Regions from separate parts of the Homo sapiens genome. Here all the other regions are linked to region 2. The links are contacts of gene promoters, found by promoter capture Hi-C in blood cells and fetal thymus (Javierre and others, 2016). All regions are on one chromosome and are shown on one strand. The core of a region is centred on a gene start or on the middle of the fragment in contact, and the rest is flanking DNA. Distances in the headings are between cores, read along the strand shown.

The links. The method cuts DNA at HindIII sites, captures the fragments that hold promoters and counts their contacts. A CHiCAGO score of 5 or more calls a contact.
Region 1: a fragment that was not itself captured here is called in contact with the fragment with the promoter of RAPSN in region 2 in 1 of 17 cell types (M0 macrophages); the score reaches 5.4 in M0 macrophages.
Region 3: a contact is called between a fragment that was not itself captured here and the fragment with the promoter of RAPSN in region 2, in 1 of 17 cell types (M2 macrophages). The highest score is 7.6, in M2 macrophages.
Region 4: a contact is called between a fragment that was not itself captured here and the fragment with the promoter of RAPSN in region 2, in 1 of 17 cell types (megakaryocytes). The highest score is 5.6, in megakaryocytes.

What each region holds. Positions count from the first base shown.
Region 1 is chr11:47,272,495-47,278,596 of GRCh38, reverse strand. MADD (MAP kinase activating death domain) reads right to left here. Exons shown (of 37, transcript NM_001376571.1): 2 at 4,621-4,770; 3 at 3,438-4,034; 4 at 2,395-2,698; 5 at 1,734-1,865; 6 at 319-432. The coding sequence starts at 4,682. Among named protein-coding and RNA genes, the nearest start is that of MADD-AS1, 3.4 kb to the right of the region's middle. The HindIII fragment of the contact is 3,506 bases long and covers 2,385-5,890 here.
Region 2 is chr11:47,447,886-47,455,247 of GRCh38, reverse strand. RAPSN (receptor associated protein of the synapse) reads left to right here and starts at 6,112. Exons shown (of 8, transcript NM_005055.5): 1 at 6,112-6,475; 2 at 7,098-7,362. The coding sequence starts at 6,284. The HindIII fragment of the contact is 3,655 bases long and covers 3,310-6,964 here.
Region 3 is chr11:47,317,322-47,324,146 of GRCh38, reverse strand. MADD (MAP kinase activating death domain) reads right to left here. Exons shown (of 37, transcript NM_001376571.1): 31 at 312-476. Among named protein-coding and RNA genes, the nearest start is that of MYBPC3, 32 kb to the left of the region's middle. The HindIII fragment of the contact is 3,885 bases long and covers 3,112-6,825 here.
Region 4 is chr11:47,228,964-47,235,823 of GRCh38, reverse strand. DDB2 (damage specific DNA binding protein 2) reads right to left here. Exons shown (of 10, transcript NM_000107.3): 4 at 2,865-3,010; 5 at 1,152-1,251; 6 at 890-1,067; 7 at 412-554. Among named protein-coding and RNA genes, the nearest start is that of ACP2, 16 kb to the left of the region's middle. The HindIII fragment of the contact is 2,598 bases long and covers 2,830-5,427 here.

The DNA of each region.
Region 1 (6,102 bases), core at 2,888-5,387, 170 kb after region 2:
AAACCATTAAGAGATGATCTATACCACATGTAATGGCCCTCAGATCACAACTGTCTGACTGCTCTTGGAGGATATGGTGGGGGGTCACTTAATTCTGGCAAAAATAAATCCTGTAATTCTCTGAGACCTAACCAAGGGTTTATTTGGCTAATAAGGTAAAAGGAGCATTTAAAAAAACTTGTTTCAGTAAGTCTCGCAATAGAAATTATCCAACAACTTAGGACGTTCCTGAAAGGAATCTAGAAACAGATATCTCAGGACTGGGTCTAGAATGCAATCCTCCTCTAGACTCTACAATGCCTCAGCCAAGAACCTCACCCTATTGCTGTCCAGATCCACTAGCCATACATCATCAGGCATTTTGAAGTCCAGTTTGTAGAGGAAGAAGCTGGCAGGAACCCCAATGATGTACGGGGTTGGAGCCAACAGCAGCTGTGGAAATGATAAAGAAGGTGAGAAACAAAGACAAAACCTATCATGAGCACTTATCAAGTCTGGATTCTTCTAGATAAGGAAATGCAGATACAATCCCTCTTCCAAAACTCTTGAGGCCAGATGTATTTGAAAATTCAGAATTTTTCAGATTTTTTGAAAGGTAACATGGTACATTTTTTTGTATACAGTAGTCTTTCTTATCCACAGTTTCACTTTCTGTGATTCCAGTTAACTGAGGCAAACTGTAGTCTGAAAATATTAAAAGGAAAATTCCAGAAATAAACAATTCATAAATTTTAAACTGCAGCTTGATCATATCTGAAGTGCAGGACAATAGTTCTGAGAAGCATGATGAAATCTCATGCTGTCCCGCTCTGTCCCACCCAGACATGAATCACCCCTGTGTCCAGCCTGTAGCCATCTCGGTTATCAGATCAACTGTCACACAATCTCAGCGTTTGTGTTCAAGTAACCCTTATTTTACTTAATAATGGCCCCAAAGCACAAGGGTACTGATGCTGGCAATTGGGATATGCCAAAGAGAAGCCAAATATATGTAGAAAGAGGCTGGGCACGGTGGCTCATGCCTGTAATCCCAGCACTTTGGGAGGCTGAGGCAGGCGGATCACCTAAGGTCAAGAGTTCAAGACCAGCCCAGCCAACATGGTGAAACCCCGCCTCTACTAAAAATACAAAAAATTATTTGGTGTGTGGTGGTGGCAGTGCCTGTAATCCCAGCTACTAGGGAGGCTGAAGCAGGAGAATCACTTGAACCTGGAAGGCAGAGGCTCCAGTGGGCCGAGATTGTGCCACTGTACTCCAGCCTGGGGGATAGAGGGAGACTCTGTCTCCAAAAAACACCAAATATATGCCCAAAGAGAAAACTGTTACTCTCTTACTGTGTCTAATTCATAAATTAAACGGTATCACCGGTATATATGTATAGAAAAAAACAAAGTATCTATAGAGTTTGGAACTATCTGTGGTTTGAGGCATCCACTGGTGGGTCTTGGAATGTGTCCTCCACAGATAAGGAGGAACTACTGTATTACGTAACACACGTAACACCTGCTGCAGTGTAGCCAGTGGCCTACAGTCATTAACATTTGTTGTGATAAATGAAAACTAAAATAGCATAAGCCTTGCCACCAGATCAGTTCAAATCAGTCAGATTTTGTAGACAAATAAGTTATGACAAAGGATTGAGGACCAGCACTCACTTACAACTTCTTTGAGCATTAAGCCTCCTCCCTCAGGAAGACAGAGGTGAGAAAGCCGGAAGTCGCCTTGAGACTCACCTGCTCTGCTGATGCCATGCAGGTGGGTAGCAGCGGGATGACAGGAAACATATACTCCAGTGGGTAGATCATTGCCACGAATGCCATCACAGACATGGAGAGTGCATTGTAGTCTCGGGACTGTAGCACCACCTGTCATGAGCCATCCAGTAAGAATCACTCCAAAACATAAAATATGGTTTACAAGAAAACAGCTTCCAACATTACAACTTGGTTTCCACTTCATCGAGCCTACAGCTCCAGCTTTGTCTCTCCCACTGCCCCCTGCCCCACCATGCCTGCCACCTCCCAATCCAGGCACAATGGTGATCCTCAGTCACCTGAGATATGCAAATCACTCCCTTACCTTCCTAGTTCTTGTACTGCCCATCCCAGGACCACTCACTGAAACAGAACTACTGATATTTCCAAAGAATTAGGTCAGTACAATTAAGGATAAGCCCTAATGAATGGTAAACCCTCTAAATACATCCCACATGATACCAGTATCTTAATTCAACCCACATCTACGGAACACCTGCTGTTTACCAGGCATCATGTTACCTCCTGAAGACAAAAAGGTGAAAAATATGTAGTCCCTGTCCTCTAAGAGCTCGTGGTCTGGCCACTGGCATATTTAAGAGTTTCTCCCCTAGAAAGGTCTAGGAAGCTTGCCTCTCACCTTGTGCTCTAACAGAATGCAGGTTAGCACCTGGAGACAGGCGTCCACACCTAGAAGTTCCAAGGGAAGGTGCAGTGGGAAATCCACTAGGGTGAATCGAGATGGGTCTGGAAGAGCAAAGGTCAGAGCTGGCTGGAGCTCTTGGGGTAGGACCTCGATGTCTACTCGCTTCTGCCCAGAGACGGGTACTGGGGAGCGCAGCAATCGATAGATCCAGGCCTCAATCTCTCGAAGGTCATGCAGAAGGGCACTTGACTTCTCCTCTACCAGCAGCGATCCAGTAAAGATCCGCCACATGGTGTCCCTGAGAAGCAGACAGCAGGAATCAGACACATTAGCATCAGAAGCTGATACCCTACTGCAACTCAGTATCACCACAGAGGCTCTAATGATGACAATGGGAAACGGAGCATCATTAAGAAAGCCCAGTCTCTGAGCTCAGATAGGACCGGAAAGTATATACAATGGCAAAAGCAAATGTAAAGATATATACTGGGTAAGACTTACTGTCCTAACCACAGTTAAAACACCAAATTCCAGCATTACTCCAAACACAATTTTGGAAAGAGGTCTAACTCTGCAGCAGTCTTTTGCTTAGTAAAGATTAACTCTTGGCTGGGGATGATGCTCACGCCTATAATCCCAGCACTTTGGGAGGCCAACGTGGGTGGACCACCTGAGGTGAGGAGTTTGAGACCAGCCTGGCCAACATGGCGAAACCTTGTCTCTACAAAAATACCAAAATTAGCTGGTCATGGTGGCGTGCACCTGTAATCCCAGCTACTCGGGAGGCTGAGGCAGAAGGATCACTTGAACCCAGGAGGCAGGGGTTGCAGTGAGCCGAGATCGCACCACTGTACTCCAGCCTGGGCAACAGAGCGAGACTGTCTCCAAAAGAAAAAAGATTAACTCTAAATACTCTAAATATGCTTAATAGGTCTGAAGGACCTTGAGCTGTAGAGGAAATTTCCTATGCCCCTCAAAGACCAATTACATGGAATCTCTAAATGCTTCCCCCATTAGGCATCAGCAGCAAACTGTACCTTTGTACGCCTCGAGGGATGCCCAGTTTCTTGCCCAGAAGGCGCTCACTACAGCAGTCCACCAGGCGCTTGAGAGTATACAAACACTCTCGGAAGGTGGAGAAGAAAGGGTAGTGGCTGAGCACGCACAGGGACGTGAGAGTACTGTTGCGGGAGCGGCTCCCCGCCTTGGCCCGGCGTTTGCCCCGAGGAGACTGGTTCACATCAGGGGTAGAGTCAGCACTGAGAGGCTGCAGGGATGAGCCACTCTCTGAGCTCTCAGTGCCACCCTCTTCTGAGGCACAGGTGGCATGGGTTCCTTCCTTCCCACGGGACCCTGCCCCACCTTCCCCCTTCTCCTTAGAGATTCGCTTTTGGAAGGAGCGGTAGAAGTTAACACAGATGCCATATCGCGTGACTCCAGTGTCCTTGTCAGTGAGGGTGAAGACAAAAGAGGTATCATCCCGAAGGCTCATGCGCCGCTGCCGCACGCTCAGGCAGCCCTCGGGCTGGCAGAAGAACACTACATCTGGGGGCAGGGGAAACTCAGTGTGATCCTCCAAGGGGTATCGCCGTAGCAATTCAGGAGTCTGGGCCACGCTATCACTGCTCGGGTGCCTGAAGAACATAAAGACAAATTCAGCAGCCTGAAGGGATGGAATGGGCTATCAAATTTTAACCACAGTCAACAAATAAAGCTCAAGATGCTATTTTGGATAAAGTAACCTGACTGTAACACCTTGGAAAATATGGGTGCTGCCTGCCGCATGGAGCTGGTAACCTAAGTGAAGTCTACACTGTCATGAAGGCATCTATTCTGAAACGAAGGGGAGATTTTGACAATAAAATTATCACTGGCACCTTAAGATGATTAACATCTTTTAAAGTGAATTAACTAATAAATTACCAAAAAAGTATACATAGAGGAGTAGCTTATAATGTACTTTTTCTTTTTACAAAATAAGAAAACTGAGGTATAAAGAGTATATTTGCTCGACATCAAGAAGATGTTAGTTAAGAGCAGGGTTTTGCTTTCAATCCACCTGATTTTGTTTTTTCCCTACTGGCTTCGATGCTCCCATCAGGGTAAAATAACAGGAGAAGATGAGCTATGCAAAGCAACATGGAAATCGGAGAAGGGAACAACTGCAGATTTTATGGCTATCCCAGATATTAAGACAAAAGTCAATCTCTTCTTGGTTACCTGGCCCCTACGATCACTAGATAGTCAAGTAACCGAGGACAGAACTTCTTCTTTTGCACCATGGTTCCAATTCATCAGTTTATCTCAGAGAAGCATCAGGGCACCAAGCAAGGAGTCAGCATTCCCAGGAGGAATTCTGAAAATCGAAGTCTAATAGGAAAAAAAGTACTGATAAGATCCACTGCTGTGCCTAAGGGACTCATCCCTCTCAACTTCTTCCCGGCCAGAGGCAGAGGTCAGAAGGTCTTCCACTTTCATACTAATGATAGGAGAACTTGACGCTTGCCTAGCCTCGTGTCTAGGCTCATGAGCTCACAGAATCGAATGTTAAAAAATAGATAGGCCAGGCATGGTGGCTCACGCCTGTAATCCCAGAACTCTGGGAGGCCGAGGCGGATCACCTGAGGTCAGGAGTTTGAGACCAGCTGGCCAACATGGCAAAACCCCATCTCTACTAAAAATACAAAAAAATTAGCCGGGTGTGGTGGCACACATCTGTAATCCCAGCTACTCGGGAGTCTGAGGCATGAGAATCGCTTGAACCCAGGAGGTGGAGGCTGTGGTGAGCTGAGATCGCACCACTGCACTCGAGCCTGGGTGACAGAGTGAGACTCCGTCTCAAGAAAAAAAAAAAAATGTAGATAAATAATGGTTCACCTACCTATCCCTACCAATGACTTAATTTCCAGCTTAACGCCTGGGGCTCTGTTTCTGAAAAACAGACCTAGGCCATCTAATCTGGACTCAGTCATTGTAACAAAAATTGAAGTCACTCTCAGGATCCCTCCAGGGTGGATCAGGATCAAACCAGACTCCTCAACTAGCTAGCACTAACCTGCACTTCTAGGTCTAGATGGAAACTTAATTATTCTGTTTCAACAATCTACATTCAGCTTGATGTAAAACTACCACATAGACTGTCTAGTTAACCATGCTCAGACAATAACAGCTGGCTATTCTACCTCATGTGATCTCAAATGAAAATGTCCATGCCCCAATTGCCTAATCTGCACCACTTTTCTCCCTCCTTCAGGCAAGAAAGGAGCCCAGAGGCCACTGCTACTAGCTCTGCCCTTGGTGCTGAATCATAATCTCTCCTCTATTTTGATCTCAGGCTCAGAATCAGTAATACAATACCCACAGATGAGTCCTTGTCCTACTATACATTACAGAGGCTATGAATTAGAGGCAGAAATACCAGGATTTCTGCAAGGACAGGGAGACGTGCTCAGAGAAATTTCTAAACTATGTCCTAAAATTAGGAAAAGCTTTCATGGTCTTAATTATAATTTATTTCGTGTTAAGTGTCTATACACTTCTCTAAATAAAACGTTTCACCCCGCTGCACAGCTATTTCTGGTAGGGCTACTTCTTCTATGAGTAGAAGTTCTTTTCTCATATTTCTAGTGTTCCAGGATTCTACCTCTGTGCTCTACATGCGGCCTAAGACCTTGTTCAATGCACACGGAGAGAAACCCATTA
Region 2 (7,362 bases), core at 4,863-7,362:
CTCCTAGATAACACATGTTGCCAACCAACTCAGAAATATTTAGTCCTCACATGCCAGATTGTGACTCTTGCTTCAGGCCCAAACTTAATTTTCTACTTTTGATTATAAAACAGGGATCTAAAATGTGAGGTGTGCAGCTGGTACCTGGCCCAGCAGGCACTCTGGTGATAGCCCTGAATCCCCCGACTGTATCACCACCTTGTGAGGTTAAGTGGCACTGAAAAGACCATTTCATTTTGTGGCTGTTCCCTAACACCTTCCAGGGCTTTTCATCTACTGGGCACTGGTAAGCAAGTCTTAACTCTTTACCCTCTCCTTAATACATGCCTTCTGCCCACCCAGGCTACAGCTTTGGATAAGTTCCCAGTGACTTTGCTGTGCTTCAGGTAAAGATCGCAATGAATTCCGGAAAACTATTGTTCTGTTCTCCACTTTCTCCATCTCCCTTGTCCTCGCCTCCTTTCTAGTACAGTATAATGGTTAAGAATGGGAGTCCTGGCCAGGTGTGTTGGCTCACACCTGTAATCCCAGCACTTTGGGAAGCCGAGGCAGGCATATCACCTGAGGTCAGGAGTTCGAGACCAGCCTGGACAACATGATGAAAGCCCGTCTCTACTAAAAATACAAAAAAAAAAAAAAGCCAAGAGTGGTGGCACGTACCTATAATTCCAGCTACTCAGGAGGCTGAGGCATGAGAATCGCTTGAACCCGGGAGGTGGAGGTTGCAGTGAGCCAGGATTGCGCCACTGCACTCCAGCCTCGGCAACAGAGCTAGATTCCATCTCAAAAAAAAAAAAAAAAAGAACGAGACTCTACAACCACACTGCTTCTGGTCCCAGCTGTCTAGGACCAGCAGATGGCAGTGTAGTCTTGGGCAGGTCACCTTACCTCTCCATGCCTGTTTCCTCATTTGTAAACTGGAAGAAATGCTTAACTCAGAAAATGTTAGAATGTTAAATAGGATTCTCTGTTGGTCTCCTCTTACCTTGCCAGGGGCCGTGCCGTTAGTTACTAGTAGTACAAAGACAAGTAAACCACAGTCGTTGCCATAGAGGAGCATGCCCTTAACCTAACTACAGTCGCTGATTTCTGGAAAACGTGCTCAGAAATGAAATTTTTGAGGCCGGGCATGGTGGCTCACGGGAGGCTGAGGCGGGCAGATCACTTAAGGCCAAAAGTTCGAGACCAGCCTGGCCAACATGGTGGAACCCCGTCTCTACTAAAACTGCAAAACTTAGCCAGGTGTAGTGGTGCTCGCCTGTAATTCCAGCTTCTTGGGAGGCTGAGGCAGGAGAATTGCTTGAACCCAGGAGGCAGAGGTTGCAGTGAGCCGAGATCCCACTGTGTCCGCAGTTGGTTCCTTCTAGTGGGTTCGTGGTCCCGCTGACTTCAAGAATGAAGCCGTAAACCTCTGTGGTGAGTGTTACAGCTATTAAAGGTGGTGCAGACCCAAAGAGTGAGCAACAGCAAGATTTATTGTGGAGAGCAAAAGAACAAAGCTCCCACAGCGTGGAACGGAACCTAAGCGGGTTTCTGCTGCTGGCTTGTTGGGGTGGGGATGGGCTGGTCGGGGAGGCAGCTTTTATTCCTTTATTTGTCTCCACCCATGTCCTGCTGATTGGCCCATTTTACAGAGCACTGATTGGTCCATTTTACAGGGTGCTGATTGGTCCATTTTACAAATCTCCAGCTAGCTACGGAGCACCGATTGGTGTGTTTTTACAGAGCACTGATTGGTGCATTTTACAAACCTCTAGTTAGCTACAGAAAAGTTCTCCTAGTCACCACTCCACCCAGGAAGTCCAGCTGGCTTCACCTCTCACCACCACGGGCACTCCAGCCTGGGCGACAAGAGTGAAAAACTCCATCTCAAAAAAAAAAATAATAATAAAGAAGAAATGAAATGTTTCAAGGAAACATAAGGTACTCTGCTACCTAGAATAAGCGAGTATGGGCATATTCCCATCACTGAAGTCAGATGAGCAAAGACCTGTCTCAGGGAAAGGACAGCTTGATCCCATCAAGTTTTCAAGTTTTGAGGTCATTTGAGTTCCCCAGGAAAGAGGAAGGCTGTGGTCCCCAACTCTGTTGGGGTGTAGATGCAGGCCGCCCTTCCTCCATTCCTTCCTGCCAGAGACTCAATGTGAATAGTGTCTGGGCCTTGGAGTGGGGAGAATCTGCTGGCCCTTCACACCTTCGCTGTGGGCCCAGCTTCCCTCCCATCTGCAGCTCAGCATCAACCCAGGCCTCCCTGAGATGAGAGAAGACCCCAGCCAGCTCTCCCTCCCTTTCCCAGGCTTAGGAGCACTCCTTTGGGGAGTCCAGGTGGCCTTGCCCAGCCACCTGTCCCAGAGCCTGCTCCCACTCTGCCTCTGTTGAGCCTGGGGCATTTGCCTTCTGACCCCCAGAGCGTCCCCTCTGACCCGTTGGGCTCTCAGGAAGCAGGCCGTGTAGTTGCTCTGAATTTCCCGGTGAAGCCGTCTTTCCTCCGCTTCTTCCCCATTCACCGATATTTGACATTTATTGAGGGGCCACAGTGTGCCGGGCCTTGCTCTGGGAATACAGTCAGTAATGAAGGAGACAAAGTCCTGCCCTGGGTTAGGGCCCAGCCATATGACCTCATTTGAGTGAAGAATAAAGACATTCAGCAAACAACCTCACTAATATAAAATTATAGAGAGGCTGGGCGTGGTGGCTCACGCCTGTAATCCCAGCACTTTGGGATGCCCAGGCCAGCGGATCACTTGAGCACAGGAGTTCAAAACCAGCCTGGCCAACATGGTGAAACCCCGTCTCTACTAAAAATATAAAAATTAGCTGGGCATGGTGGCATTGCCTGTAATGCCAGCTACTTGCGAGGGTTGAGGTGGGAGGGTGGCTTGAGCCCAGGAGGTCGAGGCCTCAGTGAGCCTAGATTGTACCACTGCACTCCAGCCTGGGCGACAAAGTGAGACCCTGTCTCAAAATAAAATTATAGAGATAAGTCCTGTATCAGAATGCAGTGTAATTCAATGAGAGGATAATATGCTGATTCATCCTAATTATGACTTACGAGGCAGAGTGTGGGTGTGGTGAACAGAGAAGGAATTAGGAGGTGCAAAGGCCCTGGGGCAGACAGGTAGGCAGGTACCAGAATGTAACAGTTGCCATATTACTCACACTTCTGCTCCAAGCATATACCTAAGAGAAATGAAAACATGTCCCCATAAAACCTAGTACATGAATTTTTTATTTTTTTGAAACAGGGTCTCGCTCTGTCACCCAGGCTGGAGTGTAGTGACATGATTGCGGCTCACTGCAGTCCAAGCTTGTAGGCTCAAGCGATTCTCCTGCCTCAGCCTCGCGAGTAGCTGGGACCACAGCTGTGCACCACCACACCCAGCTAATTTTTTTTTTTTTTTGTATTTTTTGTAGATATGGGGTCTCGCTATGTTTCCCAAGCTGGTCTCCAACTCCTGGGCTCAAGTGATCTGCCTGCTTCAGCCTCCTAGTGTGCTGGGATTACAGGCGTGAGCCACCGTGCCCAGCCCAATTTGTACATGAATTTTTATAGCATCATTATTCATAGTAGCCAAAAATGAAACAACCCAAATGCCTATTAACTGCTGAATCAACAAAATGTATATCCAGACAATGAGTATTAACCAACCACAATAAGTAATGAAGTTCTGATACGGTTGAAAACATAGTTGAATCTTGAAAACATTATGCCAAGTTAAAGAAGCCAGTCACAGATGACCACATATTGTATGATTCCATTCCTGTGAAGGGTCCACAATAGACAGGTCCATAGACACCAGGTGGCTTAAATAACAGAAATTTATTTTCTCACAGTTCTGGACGCTAGAAGTCCAAGATCAAGGAATTGGCAGAGTTGGTTTCATTCTAAGGCCTTGCTCCTGGGCTTGTAGATAGCCATCTTCTCCCTGTGTCTTCACGTGCTCTTCTTCTGTGTGACTGTGTCCTTTTTAAACATTTATTGTGGGCCAGGTGCGGGGGCTCACGCCTGTAATCCCAACACTTTGGGAGGCAGAGGTGGGCAGATCATGAAGTCAGGAGTTCCAGACCAGCCTGACCAACATGGTGAAACCCCGTCTCTACTAAAAATACAAAAATTAGCCAGGTGTGGTGGTGCGCAGCTGTAATCCCAGCTACTCAGGAGGCTGAGGCAGGAGAATCACTTGAACCTGGGAGGTGAAGGTTGCAGTGAGCCAAGATGGCACCACCACACTCCAGCCTGGGTGACAGAGGGAAAGTGTCTCAAAAAAAAAAAAAAGTATTGTGGTCAGGCATGGTGGCTCACGCCTATAACCCCAATACTTCGGGAGGCTCTGAGGCAGGTGGATCAACTGAGGTCAGAAGTTCAAGACCAGCCTGACCAACATGGTGAAACCCCGTCTCTACTAAATACAAAAACTTAGCCAGGCGTGGTGGCATACACCTGTCATCCCAGCTACTTGGGAGGCTGAGGCAGGAGAATTGCTTGAACCCGGGAGGTAGAAGTCTCAGTGAGCTGAGATTGTGCCACTGCACTCCAGCCTATGCAACAAGAGCAAAACTCCGTCTCAAAAATAATTTTTAAAAATAAAAATTTATTGTTTATTTATTTTTTGAGACAAGGTCTTGCTCTGGTGCTCAGGCTGGAGTGCAGTGGCACAATCACGGCTCACTGAAACCTCCACCTCCAGGAGTTCAAGACCAGCCTGGGCAACATGGTGAAACCCATCTCTACAAAAACTAGACAGCTGTGGTCTCAGCTACCCAGGAGACTGAGGTGGGAGGGTCACTTGAGCCTAGGAGGTAGAGGTTGCAGTGAGCTGTGACTGCACCACTGCACTCCAGCCTAGGTGACAGAGTGAGACCCTGTCTCAAAAAAAAGGGGGGGGGGATACCAGTCTTAACTGGATGAGGTACAATGTGACTTCATTTTACCTTAATCACCCTTTAAAGACCCTGTCTCCAAAGACAGTCACCTTATGAGATACTGAGTGTTAGGACTTAAACATATGCGTTTGGTTGCGGGGGGACATGATTCAGTCATATCAAGGTGGGGAATGGAGTGGTGTAACTGCTGATGGGTGTGCGTCTCCTTTTTGGGGTGGTTAAAATGTTCTGGAATTAGTGGCAATTAATGTGCATCTCTGTGAATATACTAAAAACCACTGAATTGCCCAGCCAGAAAGGATAAACTTTTGCCCTGGGGCAGGAAGAAGGCTGGCATGCAGAGAGAGGAGAAAGGGGGGCTGGATGAGCTGGCCTGCTAGCGGGGGCCCCAATACTACATAAGACCTTGCCCTTCTCCACAGTATCTGGTGTTAAATCTCATTATGAGGACCCTTTCAGCCCGGGGTTGGGATTGGAAGTGAGACATTGAAACTTCAAGGGCTGGGTTCTGGCCCGGGTGGGGATTTGCCATGGAGCAAAATAGCCTCTTGCAGCACATGCGGGGTTTCCTGTGCCGGGCACTGTCCTAAGTCCTTCTCAACTCTTTCGTCATTGAGTTCTCATAGCAGTCCAGTGAGCCAGGTACCATTCCTCTCTTCAGTCCACGGTGCCAGGTCACTTGGCTAGGGTCCCACTGAGAGTTCGAAGGAAGCCAGGCTAGAGCTCAGGCCTCTCACCAGCTGGAGGTCTTTCCCAGACTCTCTAAGGTGAGAGTTGGTGAATGGTGTCAGCCTGGGCCTGGATGAGTGACCCACGGTGCTCAGTGAATTTCAGGAACAGAGCCAGGGGATGCTGCGGTCAGGGGTGTCTTGATGGGGAAGAAGCAGGGCTGGGCGCTCACCTGGCTTCCCCGGACCTGCAGGTCCAGCCTCGCTCTCCTTCCCCCGAGCACCTCTAGCCCAAGGCCTGCCCACTTGCTGGAGCTGGCCCCTTGGCAAGGCTGCTGGGAGGGCCCGTGCTGCCAGGGCGGTCAGGGTCAGTGTCAGAGGTGCCTAAGGGACGCCCAAGGGGGTGCCCAGGTGGCAAGGTGCCTGTATGCTCAGGGAAGCCACGTCCCAGCTCGCGGGTGGGTGCAGCAGAGGCCCACGTGACCTTGCTGCTGACATTCCTCAGAGGCCATGTGGCCCCAACTGGCAGCGACAGCTGCAGACGGGCTGAACCAGCTTTGTTCCCAGGGTGGCGCCTGCTCTCCATCCAGGCCCCATTCCGGCTCCCACCCGACGCTGCTTTTGTTCCCACGTTTCGGGGGGCAGCTGGCACTGTGATTCCTGCCCCATGAGTGCCTAGAGGCACGGAGCCACCAGGGATCACCCCACGTGGGACACAGGGCTTGGGGAGGATGGGGCAGGACCAGACCAAGCAGCAGATCGAGAAGGGGCTCCAGCTGTACCAGTCCAACCAGACAGAGAAGGCATTGCAGGTGTGGACAAAGGTGCTGGAGAAGAGCTCGGACCTCATGGGGCGCTTCCGCGTGCTGGGCTGCCTGGTCACAGCCCACTCGGAGATGGGCCGCTACAAGGAGATGCTGAAGGTGGGTGTACCCGGCCTGGGGGCGTTCGAGGGTCAGGCTGGGGCCGGATGTCTCCCAGGCTCCCCAGTCCCCTCTCGGCCTCCTCGGGCTCCCCTGTGTCCCACAGGCTGGCAGCCAGGGCCCGAGGCTCTGAATTTATATCTAAGGCCCTGGGTCTTAGATACTGAGTCTTGGCATCAGATTCAGGCCTGTGGCCTTGAACTGTGGTGCCCGAGTCTCTGAGACTGAGGTTCTCCAGCCTCAGGGTCGAGGGTTTGTGGGTCTCAAGCCCATTGTAGGTTTCAGCCTTCCTGTCTGGTGTTCTGTGTCTGAGCCTGGCGGGGTGTGGGCTCCAGGGTTGCGGCTGGGGGTGGGTGGGTGGTGGAGACTCCAGATCTGAGGCTTGGGATAGAAGGTGAAGGCTGCAAGCCTGAGCTTGGGAGGTGAGGCTGGGGTGTAGGGAAGGTAGCTGAGGCTGGCGGGTAGAAGCTCTGGGTCTGAAAAGAAGCTTTGGGATCTGCTGCTTTGGGTGTGAGGCTGGGGGGTGGGTGTGGGGCCTCCAGGTCTGAGCCTGCAGTGCAGGCTGGGGTCCAAGGCTCAGAGTCCAGGCTGAGCACCACCTGCCCACCGTCGCTGTGTGCAGTTCGCTGTGGTCCAGATCGACACGGCCCGGGAGCTGGAGGATGCCGACTTCCTCCTGGAGAGCTACCTGAACCTGGCACGCAGCAACGAGAAGCTGTGCGAGTTTCACAAGACCATCTCCTACTGCAAGACCTGCCTTGGGCTGCCTGGTACCAGGGCAGGTGCCCAGCTCGGAGGCCAGGTCAGCCTGAGCATGGGCAATGCCTTCCTGGGCCTCAGCGTCTTCCAGAAGGCCCTGGAGAGCTTCGAGAAGGCCCTGCGCTATG
Region 3 (6,825 bases), core at 3,805-6,304, 130 kb after region 2:
CTCCTATTTTTCGGATGTCTTATTCATTGTTGAGGTTATGAATGATAGATCCGGAGCATATGAATAGTATGGCTTTAAAGAAGGCATGGGTACAGATGTGTAGGAATGCTAGATATGGTTGGTTAATACCGATTGTGACTACTATTAGGCCTAGTTGGCTTGACAGAGACAGCTTTAGGTACTCCACCCAACAGCTGGAGACAGAAGTGTGGCTCCAGATGTGTGTTTTGGAATTTTAACTTCCCAAAGAGAAATTCACTATTTGGTCTTCAATGCCTACTAGCCCCAACCCAAACACAGATCCTGCGTACCTTTTTAGTATAGAACTTGTTGAGCTGGGTCTCAGAGCCATTTCTACGCCACAAGCACAACACCTTCGTCTTGGGACAGTAGGTCATGTTGATGAGCTTCTCGTACCACCAGCGCTCATACACTGTTCCGATGTTACTACGCAACACCACACAGTCATCGCACACCTGGAGAAGTGCACAAAGCGGCTCAGTGGTTCCTGTCTCTGACAGCCTCTCCCTAGACTGTTTCCTACAGGGAAAGGTGGTCCTGGGGCATCCCCATGGTCAGGTTTTCTGCCTTACGCTCATGGTTTCCCTAGGTGAAGACACAAAACAGAACTACTGACATGCTGCCTGCTACAAGGATTGTTGGAAGAGATGGAGTCATTAGAAGGAACCGATGTATAAGGGAGGAGGCACAAATCAATCAGTTATTTATTACCTCTTTTTTTTTTTTTTGAGACAGGGTCTCACTTTGTACCCCAGGCTTGACTGCAGTGGCGCCATCTCAGCTCACTGCAGCCTCGACCAGCCAGGTTCTTCCTGCCTCAGCCCCCAAAGTAGCAGGGACTACAGGTGCACACCATCACATTGGCTATAATTTTTTTTTTTTTTTTTTGAGATGGAGTCCCACTCTGTTGCCCAGGCTGGAGTGCAGTGGTGCAATCTCGACTCACTGCAACCTCTGCCTTGTGGGTTAAAATGATTCTCCTGCCTCAGCCTCCCGAGTAGCTGAGATTACAGGCACACATCACCATGCTCAGCTAATTTTTGTATTTTTAGTAGAGACAGGGTTTCACCATGTTGGCCAGGCTGGTCTCGAACTCCTGACCTCAAGTGATACACCCGTCTTGGCCTCCCAAAGTGCTGGGATTACAGGCGTGAGCCACCGCGCCCGGCCCAGTTATTTATTACCTCTTATGTGCTCTACGGACTTAAAGTATTTGGAGGAGATCTCATGCCTCCATCTTACAAGCTCAGGAATCATCTTTGTTGACAAACACAAAGGTAGGAGATCATGACAGACTTAACCAAGGAGAAAAATGGAGCTGATGCACTTTCTAATCCTGGGTCTACCCTTTTTCTATAAAAATATTTTTAAAAATTAATTACACAAGTGACACATGAACAATGCTTATTACATAAAAATGATACAATACAGGATGATATAAATTAAAAAGCAAATATCTTTGACACCTTCTTGTTCAACATTCTCTTTCAGGTGAAGTTATCTGTTCTTCTTTTTGAGACGGATCTCGCTCTGTCGCCCAGGCTGGAGTGCAGTGGCGCAATCCCGTCTCACTGCAAGCTCCGCCTCCCAGGTTCACGCCATTCTCCTGCCTCAGCCTCTCGAGTAGCTGGGACTACAGGCACCCACCACCATGCCCGGCTAATTTTTTATATATTTTTTTAAGTAGAGACGGGGTTTCACCGTGTTAGCAAGGATAGTCTTGATCTCCTGACTTCATGATCCGCCCGCCTCGGCCTCCCAAAGTGCTGGGATTACAGACGTGAGCCACCATGCGCAGCCAGTTATCCGTTCTTAAGGCTTCAAATGTTACGGGAGACATTACAGCACAATGGTGAAGGGCACAGGTCTAAAGTCAGCCTGAGTTTAGATTCCAGCTCTGCCATTACTGAGCTGTGCCACCCTGAGCAAGTTCATCTGTGTCCACAATTCCTCACAGGTAAGATGGGGATAGTAACAGTAATAACTTCCTACAGTTACTATGAAGACTAAATGAGTTAATGTGCATAAAGTATTTAAGGTGCACACAAAGCCAGGCACACAGAAAGTACCCTAATTAGCTACTAGATATCAGAACTATGATACTAATGATTATTACCATGTTGATGGTTCTTACCTTTCTCCATCTTAGACCTCTCTTCCTGAGCTCCTGAGCTTCTCAGTGTCTGGATGCTTCACATGTAGCACCTCAAACTCATTGTGTCCAAATCTGAACTCAACATCTCCTCCTGGGCAGATCCTCCTTTTAAGTCTGCTATTTGAGGAAATGGCACCACCATCCACCCAGCTGCCCCAGCCTGAAATGAAGAATTGATGCCCGACTCCTTCCTCTTCCCTCTAACTAACTACACTCCATCACTGAGTCCCATTGGTTCTAGCTCAAATATCCCTGACTGCTCTTCCACTCCCCAACCATTAACTCTTACTCTTTCTTCAAGTCTAAGCTCAAAGGTCAACTTCTCAAAGGAGTTGTCCACAGCTCCTAGGCCCTCTGGTATTTATTCTGCCCCCCCTGAGCTTCTTTCATAATGCTCACCATATTTTATAATACTCTTTAATTATCTGATTTCCCCAATAGCTTGTCAATGCTAAGGGCAATAGAAATCACGTCTGTCTTATTCACTGCTATAATCCCAACACCCAACAAAGTACCTAGCATATAATACGTGCTCCACAAATATTAGGTGAGTGAGTAAGGAACACACAAGACTATCAGGTTTAAGCTACTGTATAAGACTTTACTGGAGTTCTAAAGCCTTTGAAGAATCAGTCAAAGTGGCAGAGTAGGAATGGGAAACTTGAGTTCTAGGCCCAGTCTGACTCTGTGGTTATCTCCAGGGGGAAAATGGACAATACCACTCCACCTTTCATAATCCTTTAAGAACATCATGTAAAGGCAGGCAGAACACATTTAGGAGAACACATGATTTCTAAGCTAGAGCATTCTAGTCTAGAGAAATGCTTGTAATATACTGTTATAGTCGTCTAAGTGGCTGTTGGAGGTGTAAACTGGTATAGTTTTTGGGATGGCAATTTGGCAAAATCTACCGAAATTTTAAACGTATATAAGCTTGACTTGAAATTTTCATGTCTAGGACTATATCCTATAGAAATTCTCATGTGAGGGTGCAAAAATATATGTTCAAGGATATTCAATGAGCAATTATTATTATTATTATTATTTTTTGAGACAGGGTTTTGCTCTGTCACCCAGGATGGACTGAAGTGGTGTAATCAGAGCTCACTGAAGCCTTGACCTCCCAGGCTCAAGGATCCTCCCAACTTAGCCTCCCCAGTAGCTAGGACCATAGGCATGCACTAGCATGCCTAGCTTATTTTAAAATTTTTTGTGGAGACGGGGTTTCCCTATGTTGCCCAGGCTGGTTTTGACCTCCTGGGCTCAAGCGAACCTCCCACCTCAGCCTCCCCAGTAGCTGGTACCACAGGCATACATCACCACATGTATGACTAATTTTTAAATTTTTTATAGAGACAGGGTCTCCCTATGTTGCCCAGGCTGGTCTCAAACTCTGGGCTCAAGCAATCCTCCTGCCTCAGCCTCCCAAAGTACTGGGATTACAGGCGTGAGCCAACATGCTTGGCCTAATGAGTAATATATAAATATATATTTCATTTTTTTAAATTTTTTTTTTGAGACGGAGTCTTGCTCTGTCGCCCAGGCTGGAGTGAAGTGGTGCAATCTCGGCTCACTGCAACCTCCGCCTCCCAGGTTCAAACAATTCTCTGCCTCAGCCTCCCAAGTAACTGGGATTACAAGCACCCACCACCTCGCCTGGCTAATTTTTTGTATTTTTAGTAGAGGCAGGGTTTCACCATCTTGGCCAGGCTGATCTTGAACTCTTGACCTCGTGATCCACCCACCTTGGCCTCCCAAAGTGCTGGGATTACAGGCGTGAGCCACCACACCCAGCATGAGTAATATTTTTTTAAAAAATAGTGAGAGGCACTAGTTAAACCAATTATGGTACACCATACGACATCTAATGGCTAAGCATCCATTAAAGAAAAAAAAAAAAAGACACGGAAAGGTATATCATTAAGTGAAAAAAGCAAATTATTTAACAATATTTGTAATTTTTTTTTTTTTTTTTTTTTTGCGATGGAGTCTCGCTTTGTCACCCAGGCTGGAGAGCAGTGGCATGATCTCGGCTCACTGCAACCTCCGCCTCCGGGTTCAAGCGATTCTCCTGCCTCAGCCTCCCATGTAGCTGGGATTGCAGGCGCCTGCCCAACACGCCCGGCTAATTTTTGTATTTTTAGTAGAAACAGGGTGTCACCACGTTGGCTAGGCTTGTCTGGAACTCCTGACCTCAAGTTATCCACCTGCCTCGGCCTCCCAATGTGCTGGGATTACAGGCTCATGTGAGCCACCATGCCCAGCCCAATATTTGTAATTTGATACCACTTTCGTAAGTGCAAAAACAAAATTCCATATAAATAAATTATATTTGCACAAATATGCATTTTCAATAATCTGAAAGGAGTCACATAAAACTCTTCATTACTGGTTACCTCTGGGACAAAGGATTGAAAGGCAGTGAGTAAAACTTTTAATTATTTTTTAACTTTGGCACGGTTTGAAACATTTACAGCATATACTGTTTTACTTCTGTAACTAAAAAAAGGGCAACAAAGACAATTTTTAAAAATCTTTGGCTGGGTATGGTGGCTCACACCTGTAATCCTAGCATTTTGGGAGGCCAAGGCAGACGGATCACTTAAGGTCAGGAGTTCAAGACCATCCTGGCCAACATGGCAAAACCCCATCTCTGCTAAAAATACCAAAAATTAGCCAAGCGTGGTGATGCGTGCCTGTAGTCCCAGCTACTCGGGAGTCTGAGGTAGGAGAATCTCTTGAAGTCGGTGGGTGGATGTTGCAGTGAGCCAAGATTGTGCCACTGCACTCCAGCCTGGGTGACAGAGCAAGACTCCACCTCCAAAAAAAAAAAAAAAATTATATATATATATATATTTTCCTTGGCCAGGTGTGGCAGCTCACACCTGTAATCCCAGCACTTTGGGAGGCTGAGGTGGGCAGATCACTTGAGGTCAGGAGTTCGAGACCAGCTTGGCCAAAATGGTGAAACCCCGTCTCTACTACAAATACAAAAATTAGCCAGACATGATGGCATGTGCCTGTAGTCCCAGCTACTCAGGAGGCTGAGGCAGGAGAATCGCTTGAACCTGGGAAGTGGAGGTTGCAGTGAACCAAGATTGTACCACTGCACTTCAGCCTGGGCAACAGAGTGAGACTCTGTCTCAAAAAAAAAAAAAAAAAAAAAAAAAAAAAAAAAAAATTCCCAAACTGCTGTCCAGTTGATCATGCAAAAAGCAGGCTATGCTCTGAGAAAGGCTAAATCAAATAGCCTCACAGGAGCCAGGTGATGGCACAGTGACCATGGTGCACTCTTCCCTGGCATGGCACCACTTCGAGGAAGAGGCATCTATTTGGGTAATGGGTCCAGTCCCACACTCCAGAGACTTAGCATGAGGCTCCCTTTGTACGGTGGTGAGAGTAAGAGTAGTTCAAGGAATCTGCTGGAGATATTTTTTTTAAAAGGAAAAGAAAAGGGCAAGAGTCATGTGCCACTTCTGCTGTGGTGCAGATGTCCTAAGTCAGCCCTAGGCTCTGAGAGGCAACTAGCCAAATTCTAACACTTTAAAGGGTGACATGAAAATGACTCCTTCTTGGCTACACTGACATGTATGTTTCTGCTTCAGGGTAAGCCCTTCTTGCGTTTGGTAGACCACCTGTTCAAAAAAACTGTGAATGTGATATTCAAATTCAGCTAAACCACAGGGGAACAGATAACATAGGCAAAATTTTACTACTTTATATATAGGAGTTGTATTTGGTCCTTAAAATTACTTAGGTCTGTTTCAGAATTAAAAACACAGAAATGAAGAAAACACGGCCAATTTCCTTTATAATCCTGGAGAGTAAGGCTTTTTCTAACCATGCCTCAAAATCCAGAAGCCGTAAAAGAAACTATTGATTAATTTAATTATATAAAAGTAGCCAGGCGTGATGGCTCACACCTGTAATCCCAGCACTTTGGGAGGCCGAGGTGGGTGGATCACTTGAGGTCAGGAGTGCGAGACCACCCTGGCCAACATGGTAAAACCCCATCTCTACTAAAAACACAAAAATTAGCCGGGTGTGGTGGCAGGCACCTGTAAACCCAGCTACTTGGGAGGCTGAGGCAGGAGAACTGCTTGAACCCGGGAGGTATAGGTTGCAGTGAGCCGAGATCATGCCACTGCATCCAGCCTGGGCGATAGAGAGAGACTCTGTCTCAAAAAAAAAAAAAAGTTATATACAAATAAAAAATTTATGTGTGTCAAAAAATACCATAGGCAAAATCAGAAGACAAATGAGGAACTTTCTGGTGGGCAGATCAGGTTGCCCACATCTGAGCCCACTGATGTGTAAGAGAGGGACAACCATATGAGGCAATAGGAAGCGTATAGCACCACTCATTAAGTATTCTTCCCAAAAGAGTGAATCTGAAAGTGATCAAACCTCTAAACTGAACTACCAGTCTATGAGAAATATGTGACAGGAAACACGCTAATACAAAGGAGACACAATCAGCAAAAAATCTAGAATGTAGGAGACTCCACAGGGCAAACGATCCAATTTCTTCAACAAAATTAATGGCAAAGGGGGTATTACGTGTTATGAGACACTTAAGAATTATATCAACCAAAATTACAAATGCATTGTCCCTCTGACCCAGCAATCTCATTTCTGGGAATCCTTAG
Region 4 (6,860 bases), core at 2,879-5,378, 220 kb after region 2:
GCTTGCCCCACTGTACTCCCACCTGGGTGACAGAGCGAGACCCTGCCTTAAAAAAAATAATAAAAAAATAAAAAATGAAGGTTTGTGGGTCAACTGTACACAGGTAACTGAAGCTGAGAAGACAGAACAGAGGGTCAGGATCTTAGAAAATTCTCACAGTGAGATCAGAGCTGGGCTGAAAAAACTCAGAAAAATATCTTATCAGCGAGACAGAAAACTCAACCATATGGGATGGCAGAAGTGGGATAAAAGGAAGAGAGAGAGCCAATGGGTAAGAGATGCTCTGTGCTCGGGCCAGGAGCGATCTGGGGTGGCAGGCTTACCACATCAGCCCTTCCCCACTGTGGGCAGACCTGCTCCGGCCTCATGATCACAGCCTCCTTCTGCGAGCTCCTTCCCACCGCCACTCACCTTGATGGGTGTGAGGTGCTGGAAGTGACGGTGAGGGTGCGGGATCAGGCCCAGGGGGCAGTCCCACTGGGAAGCAGAGTAAACTCGGATCTCGCTCTTCTGGTCCGTGGTCAGGAGCCGGGCTCCATCGGGACTGAAACAAGCTGGCAAAGTGAAAAGCCCCTGAGCTGAAGGAACCACAAGCCCTCTGTGGTCCTGGCCTTGCAGGCCTTCTCCTGCAGGGGTACTCTCCCTCCCACTCCTCTCTAGACAGGAGCGGAAAGGAAGAGGTGAATCTGGGCTGTGAACAACAACAAAAAAATTCTGGAAACTCAGCAGCTGATGGGGACAGCCACAGCCACAAAGGTTCCCAGACATCAGCTTGGCAGACGCTATCAGGGGTAAAGGTTTGACGTAGTGGCTTCCACACTGAGGGAAAACCCCAGCAGTGGTCAGACAGGCAGGGTCTGCAGGAGAGATGAGGTCTGGGATATCACACCTGCGTTGACAGGATGCCTGTGCGGCAGCGAGTAGAGGAAGCTGGCTTTCCCTCTAACCTGGCGCAGGTCCCAAATTTTCACTGTTTGATCTACGGAGGCTGTGGCCAGGAACCAATCACAGCATGGGTTCAGGGCCACATGCGTCACTTTCTTTTTGTGCATTCTGAGATTCCAAAGCTGCAGAGAAGAGCTCGGTTCAGGTGGGGACACAGAACCGAGGTGGGGGTGAGGGAGGGAAAGGCAGGACCTCGGAGAACGCACCTCTTTGCCGTCCATGTTCAGCAGGATCACGTTCCCCACGTTGTCTCCTGTGACCACCATTCGGCTACTAGCAGACACATCCAGGCTACAAAACCAGATGCTGGAGGGAGAGACTGTGTTGTAAGATTCTTGGGGACAGAGATAGTCCTATTTACTCACTGTTGCCGCTCCGGTGACTAACCCACAGCGGGCATTCAATAAATATTTGTTGAATGAATGAATAACTGTCTTGCCGTGGATTCCTAGTGAGGAACATTCAGACTGCTCTACCGTCCAGACAGAGGGGATGGGATAATGGGGCTCAGAAATCTGTCTGGTTATGGCTGGGCCCAGGATCCCCAGCTCCTAAAAGTCCCTGAAGCAGACAAAGCTTATACCATAAAGCAAGCCCTGAGGCACGCCTGCCCCCCACACCCCGGGTTCTGAGCAAGCCTCCTTTACTGCTCTCTCCTTTCACTCTTCACCCTTTAGGCCAAAGGAGACACAAGCCAAAGAGGGATTGCCTGGCCCTGTTCCTCAGAGCTGGCTAGAAAAGCACTTCTGCCCCCTTCTGAACACTGGGGGAAAAAACACAACCAGGAGCTCTTCTGGTCCCTCAAACCACTGGACTGGGAGGCTGACTAGGAGGGTGCTTCAGGGATCCTGCTATTCAGCCAGAAGAGCTCAGCTCACAGTTTTTCTCTCAAACTCTCAAATCCATGCTACACTGCCTTTTGCCATCCCCTATGAATATCTTCAAGCAGGAAGATTTCTTGCGGAAGAGTAGCCTGGAGCCTTGTCTATCCAATTGCCTGCTGATTTGCGTGCGCATGCACTCCTCATCCCTGCGGGACAGCCCAGGATCCAATCCAATGCTAGTTACACCCCAGCACCCTCACTTAATTCCTCAGGGAGCAGTCAGAGTCACGGCTCTAGCTGGAAATCAAAGTGACGAGTATTCTGTAATTTTTTTTTTTTTTTTTTGAGATAGATTTTCGCTCTTGTTGCCCAGGATGGAGTGCAATGGCGCCATCTCGGCTCACTGCAACCTCTGCCTCCTGGGTTCAAGCGATTCTCTTGCTTCAGCCTCCCAAGTAGCTGGGAATTACAGGGGCCTACCACCACGCCCAGCTAATTTTTTGTATTGTTAGTAGAGATGGGGGTTTCACCATGTTGGCCAGGCTGGTCTCGAACTCCTGACCTCAGGTGATCCACCCACCTTGGCCTCCCAAAGTGCTGGGATTTCAAGCATGAGCCACTGCACCCGGCCGCATTCTGTAATTTCTCCAGCCACTTTCTCTTGGGAAGTCCAGAGCACTTTATGGAAAAGATTCCATCCATATAAGCTTCCACCCAGGAACAGGTCAGGTCATTACACCACAGTGAGTGCAGGGCATTCAGTCTCAAGTTCTGAGCTGTTGCTCCATTCTCTAGGTGGCTTTCTGGGTCCACGCCATGCTGGCTTATCTAGTGAGGGTCAAGGTCCAGTCTAATACAGGTATGACTTACAGAAGAGCTGAGGCTCCAGAACACCTTCCCAAAGCAGTAACCCACCTGGACCAAAGTGAGGGCAGCCAAGGAGCAGTTTGAGAAAGAGAAAGAAGGGCGGAAAGTGGCTGACATCTTTCCTTTCTTCCCTGGGCCAGGTTGGGTTAAGGAAATGGGATCTGGATGCTCTTGCCGGAACTACACCTAAGCTTAGAAGCCCTTTCCCCTGCTAGTTAAACTACTCACTTGATGGTGTCTGAGCTGGCAAAAACTCGTAGAATGTTGCCTTTAAAGTCTTGCAGCCTAGTTGTTCCCTCCATTGAGGAGGCGTAAAACTGGTTGGTATTGAGAGGGTTAAACTTCAGCCCAGTGATGCTCCCTCCAGCTCCAATCTAACACGAGGAAGGAAAAAGCCAGTGAGTGATGATGGGCCTGGCCGTGAGGAACCAGGCCTGGGCACACATGCTGCGCCGTCACAGAAGCACCCCTCGAGCAGCGCTTGGGGCCAGGTCAGCTTAGACACTAGGACGCTCTCTACAGGGCCTTCACTTCTTTTTCTTTTCCTTTGAAATAGGGTCTTTCTCTGTCACTTAGGCTGAAGTGCAGTGGCACAAACACGGCTCACTGCAGCCTCAATCTCCTGGGCTCAAGCGATCCTCCCACCTCAGCCTCCCAAGTGCGTGCCACCATGCCCAGCTAATTTTTCTATTTTTTTTTTTTAAGATGGGGTTTTGTCACGTTGCCCAAGCTGGTCTTGAACTCCTAAGCTCAAGCGATCCCCCTGCCACGGCTTCCCAAAGTGCTAAGATTACAGGCATGAGCCGCTTTGTCTGGCCCCTTCATTTCTTTCTTTTTTTTATTTTTATTTTTATTTTTATGTTTTTGAGATGGAGTCCTGCTCTGTCACGACCTCGGCTCACTGCAACCTCTGCCTTCCAGGTTCAAGCGATTCTCCTGCCTCAGCCTCCCAAGCAGCTGGGATTACAGGTGCCCACCACCACGCATGGCTAAATTGTATATTTTTAGTAGAGACAGGGTTTCACCATGTTGGCCAGGCTGGTCTGGAACTCCTGCCCTCAGGTAATCCGCCACCCTTGGCCTCCCAAAGTGCTGGGATTACAGGCGTGAGCCACCGTGCCCCGCCTCCCTTCATTTCTTAAGGCTTTATTTTTACTTTTTTTTTTAATTAACATATAGCAAATTTGGGATATAAAGTTCTCTGAATTTTAACATATGTATAGACTTAAATAACCACCACCCAAATCAGGATGCAGAACATTTGCAACAGCCCAAAAACTCCATCGTGGTATCCCATTGTAATCACACCCTCCCCTCGCCCCCAGCCCCTGGCTGATCTGTTCTCCATCACTATTGTTTTGCCCTCATAGAATGTCCTATAGACCGAGCACAGTAATCCCAACACCTGGGGAGACTGAGGCGGGGGGATTGCTTGAGGCCAGGAGTTCAAGACCAGCCTAAGCAATATAGGGAGACCCCATCTCTACACACACAAAAAAAATTTAGACATGGTGGTAGGTGCATGTGGTTCTAGCTACTCAGAAGGCTGAGGTGGGAAGATGACGGAAGCCTGGAGGTCGAGGCTGCAGTGAGTTGCGATCGAATCACTGCACTCTAGCGTGGGTGACAGAGCAAGACCCTGTCTCTAAAAATAAAATAAAATAAAATTAAAAATAGAATGTCATGTAAATGAATTAGGCAGTATGCAACCTTTTGAGACTGTCTTGTTTCATTTCACTCATCATGCCTCTGAGATTCATCTGAGTTTGCTGTATCAAGAGCTCATCTCATTTTATTGCTGAGGTATTCCATTACATGGATGTGCCCTAATTTGTTATTCCCACAGTGCTCTCTTTAGAAGAGCTTCAGCTCAGAGCAGTGGCTGAGTTAGGAGGGCAGGAGTCAGATCTGTGCCCCTTCCTATTCTTCCAAACATTCATGAAAATGATGATGAAAATAATCATGAGAATATCAATGGCTTAACCTTATTAAGTGCTTACTATGTACTAGGCGCTGGTTTTTTGGGGGGATTTTCTTTGTGTGTTTTTTTTTTTTTTTTTTTTTTTTTGAGATGAAGGCTTGCTCTGTCGCCCAGGCTGAAGTGCGGTGGCACAACCTCAGCTCACTGCAGCCTCCACCTCCTGGATTCCAGTGATCCTCCTGCCTCAGCCTCCTGAGTAGCTGGGATTACATGCCCACACCATCACACCCAGCTAATTTTTGTATTTTTAGTAAAGACAGGTTTCACCATGTTGGTCAGGCTGGTCTCGAACTCCTGACCTCAGGTGATTGGCCTGCCTCGGCTTCCCAAAGTGCTGGGATTACAGGCGTGAGCCACTGCGCCCAGTCAGGCACTGTTTTAAGAACTTTACATCCCCAAGATGTAAAGTTCTCCACTTGTCCGCCTTTCTCCACCTTTTCCACTTCTTCTTTACGCTGCAGCTATCCCAGCCTCACAGACCTGTACAAGTTCTTCTATGCAACAACCACTTAGCTATCACAACATACTAACTGGCACATTCCCTTCCCTCTATAAAACATTCTAACCTCACGGTCATTCTAATGCTCATGGTCTGCCAAATGCTTGCTGGTAGTATGACAATCTTCGGCTCCCTCCAGTTGAGTTCTATGCTTACCAAACCAAGGGTTGGTTGTAGTTGTTCTCAAACCTGTTTATTCCAATTGTATCTTTTATTGCAATTAACACCAAATTTAATTAAGCATGTAAATTGATGAAATACATGCAAAAACAAAGGCCATTATTACTACTATAAAAGCCGTGTTGAAAGCTTTGGAAGAACTTGATAATGAGTTGCAAAAATAATAGCTATTGGCTGGGCACAGTAGCTCACATCTATAATCCCAGTATTTTGAGGGGCTGGGGCAGGAGAATCGCTTAAGGCCAGGAGTTCAAAACCTTGATGCAGTGGTGCAATCCTGGCTCAGCGTAGCCCCAACCTCCTGGGCTCAAGCAATCCTCCCGCCTCAGCCTCCCAAGTAGCTGGTGCTATAGGCTATAGGTGTGTGTCACCAATTTTTTTTTTTTTTTTTTTTTAGAGACAGGGTCTCACTATGTAACTCAGGCCAGTCTCAAATTCCTGGGCTCAAGCAATCCTTCCACCTCAACGTCCCAAAGTGCTGTTACAGGCATGACCCACTGGGTCCAGCCTCTATAAAAAATTATTAAAAATTAGCTGGGAGTGATGGTGCACACCTGTGCTCATAGCTATTCGAGAGGCTGAGGTGGGATGGTGACTTGAGCCCAGGAGTTCAAGGCTGTAGTTAGCTATGATCCTGCCACTGCATTCCAGCCTGGGTGGCAGAGCAAGACCCTGTCTCTATTAGGAAGAAGAAAAAAAAAAAAAAAAAGAAGAGCCATCAAATTAAGCATAGGGTGAGATACTTATAAAAGATTAAGGTAATAAAAATGTAAAAGGAATCTGCAATCAGATTGCTTCACAACTGTCTTACTTTGTATACTGAAAACCTTAAATTTGTATCAATGTCTTCAATTCAAAGTCAACACCACAGAGTTGATTCGAGTTTCTCTCTTTCCATGTTTATAATTCCCTTCTTTGACAGTGAAAAATGTGGTTCCCATTTTACTCAATATACTTACATATTTGATTAATCTCCTTGTATGTAACCAGTCTTCCACTATTGCTGCCACACACTCCCCAAATGCACGTCTTCCTTAGGATGCTTGGACTCTTTTACCCTCCCGAGGGCACAATCACCCTCTTCCCTCTCTCCACTCCCTCAACCATGCAGACACAACTTCCTTGCCCACATCAGGCGCCACGGCCGCCCCTCTCCATGCAAAAGCCCTGCTCACCCCACTTGACTCCGCCACCCCACTCTAGGCCTCCCTGTGGTTCAGCATCCTCAACCCCGCTTCAGACTTCACTATTCCATGCCCGGCCTCCTCTACTCTTCACCCCTGCCTACATGGATGCCCTTCTGATCTTGTTTGGGCCCAGTCTCTATGTACTGAGCTGCCACCTGCCACCTGTAATGACATTCACCTCAGCTTCAGGGGCCCCAGCATCTGGCACTTCCAGCACTGTAGCCTTCCCACTACGTAAACATCTATCTTGCTTGATCCTACCTAATGACTTTTGGTTTGAACTGTTCAGGAAGGGAAAAAGAAGATGAAGAAAGAGGAAGATAGATAGATAGATAGATAGATAGATAGATAGATAGATAGATATTTCTTTTTTTTTT